Linked DNA regions of Homo sapiens: region 1 is linked to region 2. The links are contacts of gene promoters, found by promoter capture Hi-C in blood cells and fetal thymus (Javierre and others, 2016). All regions are on one chromosome and are shown on one strand. The core of a region is centred on a gene start or on the middle of the fragment in contact, and the rest is flanking DNA. Distances in the headings are between cores, read along the strand shown.

Region 1 (3,118 bases), core at 588-3,087, 210 kb after region 2:
GAAGGCAGTTTGAAAAGGCTGCATATTCTATAATTCCATTAGTATGGGAAACTGGAAAGGCAAAATTATAGAGATAATAAACATATCAGTGGTCACTAGGATTTGGGGGTAGGGAGGTTAATAGCACAGGGGATTTTCTAGGACAGTGAAACTATTCTCATATAATGCTGTAATGATAGATATATGACATGCATTTATCAAAACACAGAACCTTCCAGCACAAGGAGTAAACCTTAAGGGATGCAAATAAAAGAAAAAGTTTAGGAGGTTGGGGAATCCAAAGATGGAAGAATGCAGAATGTGACAAGATAATCTAACTGTATTACAAATGTACAAAATAACCTCACTAAAGGGGAGGGGATGAAATGGTGCTGACCTAAGTGACTTTGGAAACGAGTGGAATCTGTAAGATAAAAAGCAAAAGAAACTATAAATAAGCAGTGTACTCTAGTAAATAGAGTTTCTTCCCATGAGGGTATGGGTTTACAATTCTGAAACCACTATATGTGTACACTGGAAATGAACAATAAAGTAAATTTATGGCAGATGTTGGAAGACCAGTTTCTCACAGTTGGAATGTGAGGCTTATAGATAAGCAAGAGGAGCAGGAAACTAGAACAATCGATGTAGCAATGGATTAGAGTTGGAAATATCAGTATAAACTCATTCTTAGCTTAATATAAATATACTGGCTAAATATATACTTATTTATAGACATACATATATACATGTATTAGTATACACACATATTTTTCTTTCTCTTAGCTGAGAGGGCCTGGAAGGAATGAACATACTTAGCACCCAGAACTTGGTTACTAACACTAGATAAACACAAATTTAAAAACTGAGATCTCTTTGGAGAAATGGCTGATTCTATACTGGCAGAAAATATAAAAGATAAGCTTTGAACATCTTGAAGTGGCAGAAAGTAAGGAAGTGCTAAAAGCATAAAGCCAAAACTAACAAAAAACCAAAATGACATAGGAGCCAGCTGAAAGAGTTCCCACTGGACAAAGCTAGAACAATCTGAGCAGCAACATAAAGTACTATTGAATTATAACTCACACTATAAAATCAATATCCATGAGTCCACACTTACTTAAATAAATAATTGGACGGGTAAGTAAGTAAATGGGGAAAGAATAGAAAAATTTCCCATACAGAAGAATTCCAAATAATTTGTTTTTATAGATACTTGGCCTTCAAGGAGATGAAGCATTAGAGCATAACTCCTCATTCCTTAAGTGTGAGCTATGCTTTGTGAGTTCCTTCCAAAGAGTATGGTATGGAGAAGGAAAAGAAAGAGTAAATTTACAGTGGAGAAGCCTTACAGACACTGCCTGATTCAGCTGATCAAGGTCAACATCAACAAGTCATGTCAGTAGTATGTACTCTTGATATGATGTGATGAAAATGCTACTGTGGCCTCCCTCTTCAAATTCCACAATGCTAATCTAGTTATAGGAAAGCATCAGACAAAGCCCAATAGAGGATCACTCTACAAAATACCTAACCAGTACTCCTTAAAACTTTCAAGGTCATCAAAAATAAGGAAAATTCAAAAAACTCACAGCTAAAAGGAGCCTAAGGAGACCTGATGACCAAATGTAGTGGTATCTTGTGTGAGAGCCTGAAACAGACACAGACGTTAGGTAAAAATTAAGGAAATGTAAAAAGGATGGACTTTAGTTAATAATGTATCAATAATTTGTTCACTAATTGTGACAAATACACCATACTAATGTAATACATAATTAATTGGGGAAGCTGAGTATGGAGTATACAGGAACTCTCTGGACCATCTTTGAAAATTTTCTGTAAATATAAAACTATTTTAAAAGGAAGTATTTTAAAAAATAGAACTTATAATGAGATGTCACTACATACATTCCTATCAGATGGACTAAAATAAAAAGTTATGACTATACCAAGTGCTAGTGAGCACGCAAATCTATTAGAATATTCAAACACTGTTGATGGGAATGTAAAACATTACAGCCATTTAGGAAGTCAGTTTGGCAGTTTCTTATAAAGCTAAACAAACATTTACCATATGACCTAGCAATCTCATATCTAGATGTTTACTCTAGAGAAATTAAAACTTATGTCCATACAAAAACCTGTGCACTAAATTTTATAGCATGTGTATTTATAATCACCAAAAACCTGGAAACCCATTATCCCTCAATGGATAAATAAATAAATAAATTGTGGTGTATACATACAATAAAATGCTGCTAAAAGAAATCTCAAAAGTTTAAATACCTTGCAATTCAATTTCTATAGTATAGAATTTTAGGAAGAAAATGGCAGATAGGAGACAGGGCTAACATGTAGTTCCCACTTGTATAGACAGAACAGCATGTGGAGACACACTGTGAACTTTTGCTCCAAGAACCACCACAGGAATGTACCGGGAAAACTGAAAGAATTCACAGATCCTTTGAAAGAAGTGGCATGCCACTGCAAATTCCCAAAGACGGGCAAAAAACTGTGAGCTCCCAAAATGTGAGCGGGGGAAAACCTGCCTCTAAACACATACCCCCACTGGGGAATCTGAACATCTGGATTACAGGAGAAGGATTTAACCTTACCTAGTGCTTAAACAGATTTAGAGAGCCGCATGAAATATAAAAGTAGAAGCAGCAGTGGAAAGAGCCTTGTAGGTACTCCCAGTCTCCCTCTTGAGCCCAGGGAAGCCAACCCTGACTCTATTCCACAAGGGCCTCAGGGAAGGCAGCCAGCAGAATTAAGGAGGGCACACAGGGTGAAGGAAGCTTTCAACTAAATTAGTAATAATATCGACAGGGCATGAATTTTCCTGAGCAGAATATGGGCGTTGAGTGGGAACTGCTGCAGATACGAGTGCAGGAGCCACCACTCACAATGTGGGCAGACTGGGAAGGATGAGGTCTGAAAGACATGCTTGCTTTCTCAGTGGGGAAGCTCACAGCCTGGGGCAAGTTCTCATCAGGGCACTGTGGGATTGAGATTAGCCTTGCCAACTGAGTGGGAGTAGAGTGAGGCCTCTCACTACCGGCTATGCTCCACTTCCCTTGTGAACTATATGACAAAGCAGAGGCAGCCATCATCCCCTCTGGAACATAACCCCACTGGC
Region 2 (3,550 bases), core at 293-2,792:
AAAATTTTATGTACATGCCATATGCATTTTGCCCCAGGAAGAGGACTCACAGCTAATTCTCAAAAGGACCTATCACCCCTAATTTTTAAGAACCACTGAAATTAATATTTTCATCTGCTCCTCTCTTGCACTATTCAGCACTTCCACCTCATTAAACATTTATATATATATTATATATATTTCTATAATATATATATATAATTAATTAATTCCCTAAACTTTGCAGAAAAAAAATCGAAGCCCAGAGAGGGTAAGTATCTTGCCCAAGTTTGCACAGCTGATGGTCAGGATTGGGATTAGCAGCACTTCCCTGGTCAAGTGAAGCACGATTTCAGGTGGGAAATCTTGCCCGGTCAACTTGACAAATGAAGACAAAGTGATCCCTCCAGACTAATAATAATGTTTTGCAACCATTTTCAAGTCCAGTCATAGAATCCCCTACGTTGCTTGTTTTCAGGGCAGTGTGGGTTGCTTCCCCAGGATACAGGTAGAGGTCACTAAAAGGATAGTTTTCTACTCAAAGAGCCAGAACTCCAGCCCTTGCCTTCCCCTGCCGTAGCACTCGGGCCGGCCCTCCAGTTACCTGAGTTTGCCTGACTTTAACCAACTCCTCTTCCCTTCCCTCCTCCCTTCTCCAGCGGGCTCTCCTTCCAGCTTCCTCCCGGGCTGCAATTCCTCTGCCTAGGTGCCTCCGTCCAGCTCCGGCTTCTGGCCCGGAGGCTGCTCATCTGCCCCTACCCCCGCTGACTTTTGGGAGGAGCAACACCTTTCAGGTCAGCATTGCTAACCCTAAACTTTCCCCGCCGGATGCCCGCGAGGCTGCTGCGGCGGCGGCTGCTGCTGATGGGAGAGTCTCGAGTCCGGCTTTCATCACATCACCTGTCTGCGCCCCTTCCCCCTCCCCGCTCTTTTTTTCTTTTCTTTTTATTTTGACGCAAATAATTTGCATTCTGAGAATCCCACAATCAACGCCGAAACTCATGCTCAAGGATACAGGTGAAGATGCCTTTGACAAAGGCGAATGCGAGCCGAGTGCAGTTTGTAAAAGCTGGGGTTGGGGGCAGTGGTGGAGGCAAAGCACCTTAAGAGTATTTTTTAGCCCCTCTGAGAAGGGACATCCGGGCGGGAGGCGGGCGGATCCCGGGCTTCCCCGCCGGCTGCCGACTCTGGCTCCTGGCTGGCGTTCTCTCCAGGAGCCCGCGCCGGTGGCCCCGCTCTCCCCTTCAGCACGCGGGCCTCGAACCCGCATCCCGGAGAGCGGCCGCCCGCGCAGCCCCTGCCGCGCGCCGTCGGAGGCGGCCTCAGCTCGCCATGGGTACTCACTTTTGCCAGGGAGCAAAGTCTGCCACATCAGTCGATGAGTACTTCCTGCACGAGGACATGAAGCTCCATTGTGTGGAAAGCTGTTTCGCGAACGGTCGGTAAAATCCAGAAAGAGGGAGAAGGAGTGAGTAAGGCAGAAAGCCCAGCCCAGAAAACCGGCGTCTGGGGATTTCAGCCTCCGCTCCCCGGTCCCCAGCCCGGTGGCTCTGTGAGAAGAAGCTCAACTCGGTGCACTTGTTCACTCTTTCTTCATGAGAGGAGGAGTCAGTGTTGCAACATTTATGTTCCTTGCTGGAGGCAAAACAGTGATTTTCTTCAGCATGCAAAACGTCCAGAGCCTGCCAGTTTTAGAAGGCGACGGAGGTAGTTGGGGGAGCTGGAATCCTGCGAAGACCTGAAGAAACAACTGATTCCCCCCAGATCGGTTTTGCATGATTAGGGCCACATATCTTTCATTGAGACTGTACCAGAAAATAGACAGACAAAACAATAATAAAAATGACTTAGTGAGTTGAATGACCTCAAAGATGATATTTTTCCAGGCAGCCAAGATGTGGAGTGTCTCCGTGTCAAATTTCTTTCCTTATTTCTGAGTAACATTGAACAGCAGCTATATTTGAGAGGTTCTCCAGGGATTTGAATTGCACCTTGCCTGAGGAGTCAGATAGAAAGGAGCAAAAGAAGATAGTCAGTGACCTAAGAAGGTTTTGCTTTTTTTTTTTTTTAATACCCAAAGCGCAAACTTCTAGTGTGCTGTGTTTATTCTCTGCCATATGAATATAATAAACATTGGCGGTGCCTAAATAGCCCCACTTCTGTTGTTTTCCACAAATAAAGAATTTATCTTTTCTAATGGGCTGCATGTTGTTCTGACTTTTCTTCTTCTTGAAACCACACACAACCGCCTTTTCTCTTGCAAAAACAAAAACCCCACATTTAACAGTGCTGAAACAAATAATAGCACCTGCCTGAATCAAATAGTTATTTCTGACTATGTATGTTGCTGGTGTCATTTGATGCCATAATAATTAATGCATCCGATTGTTACACAACCCAGAGGGCCACCAAGGAAATACTTTAAACCAAGGTTACTGAGTTTTTTTTTTTGTTTGTTTTTGTTTGTTTTTTTGAGACAGAGTCTCGCTCTGTCGCTCAGGCTGGATTGCAGTGACCCCATCTCGGCTCACTGGAACCTCTGCCTCCTGGATTCAAGCAATTGTCCTGCTTCAGCCTCCCGAGTAGGTGGGACTACAGGCGCGTGCCACCATGTCCGGCTAGTTTTTTGTATTTTTAGTAGAGATGAGGTTTCACCCTGTTAGCCAGGATGGTCTTGATTTCCTGACCTCATGATCCACCCACCTTGGCCTCCTGAAGTGCTGGGATTACAGGCGTGAGCCACTGCGCCTGGCCGTTTTTTTTTTTGTTTTGTTTTAAGTTATTGAAACATGAGGCTTTCCCCTTTGATTTGACTGCTACTCTGGATAACTGGGAAATCACAGTTAGCAGTGAGCATTTGCCAAGCCACAGGAAGCCATTGAAAATCCCATGATGCTTTGGTGATCCTTTTGGACTGGAATCCCAGAAGCAACTACCTAGGCATAATAACCTAATACTTCCTGATCAATAACACGTCCTTATTAAAACATAGACTCCACCTGGTTCTGTTAGCTGATGGGAGATGCATCTTTCACGTGCAGACCGCACATGCTTCCTGTGATGATTAGGGTATATTTACTTTCATTCATGGGTGTCCATGAAGGTACGCAACTTCTATTTATTTTCAGAACCACTGGGCGACATGAGATCCTCAGTGGCAGAATATTTCTATATGACCTTTGCAAAGCAAAGGGTCACTCAATTCTACAATAGTTGTTCTAATCAGACTATTTTAACAGTTAGTGAAATAGAAGATCACTCTGGGTAACTCCAGACTGTCAGCTCTTAGAAGGCAGGGACTTGGCTTTTCCTCCTTGTGGTTCCCACTCAGCTGCAGGCAGCTTGGCTCGTCTGTACTCCTGGCTTACAGACTGGTCGTTGCGTGGCTAATCCATACCTCACTGGTAAGAAGGGCAGGGCTGGCTTTCTGCTCTGTTGTGTAGCACACAGGCACTGTCACAAAGCCACGGGTACTCATTGTCAGTGAGTTACCTTGCCCCAGCTTTCCTGAGATGATGAAATCCGCAGTGAGCCACTATATTTTCCTTTTCTGCCCCACAGTGGTTCTTTG

What was found. Contacts are between HindIII fragments. The CHiCAGO score rates a contact against its expected background, and 5 or more counts as called.
Region 1: a fragment that was not itself captured here is called in contact with the fragment with the promoter of PRLR in region 2 in 1 of 17 cell types (monocytes); the score reaches 6.6 in monocytes.

Annotation. Positions count from the first base shown.
Region 1 is chr5:35,441,047-35,444,164 of GRCh38, forward strand. No RefSeq gene overlaps it. Among named protein-coding and RNA genes, the nearest start is that of SPEF2, 180 kb to the right of the region's middle. The HindIII fragment of the contact is 1,875 bases long and covers 901-2,775 here.
Region 2 is chr5:35,228,945-35,232,494 of GRCh38, forward strand. It overlaps PRLR (prolactin receptor), which reads right to left and starts at 1,543. Exons shown (of 10, transcript NM_000949.7): 1 at 1,324-1,543. The HindIII fragment of the contact is 6,146 bases long and covers 1-3,550 here.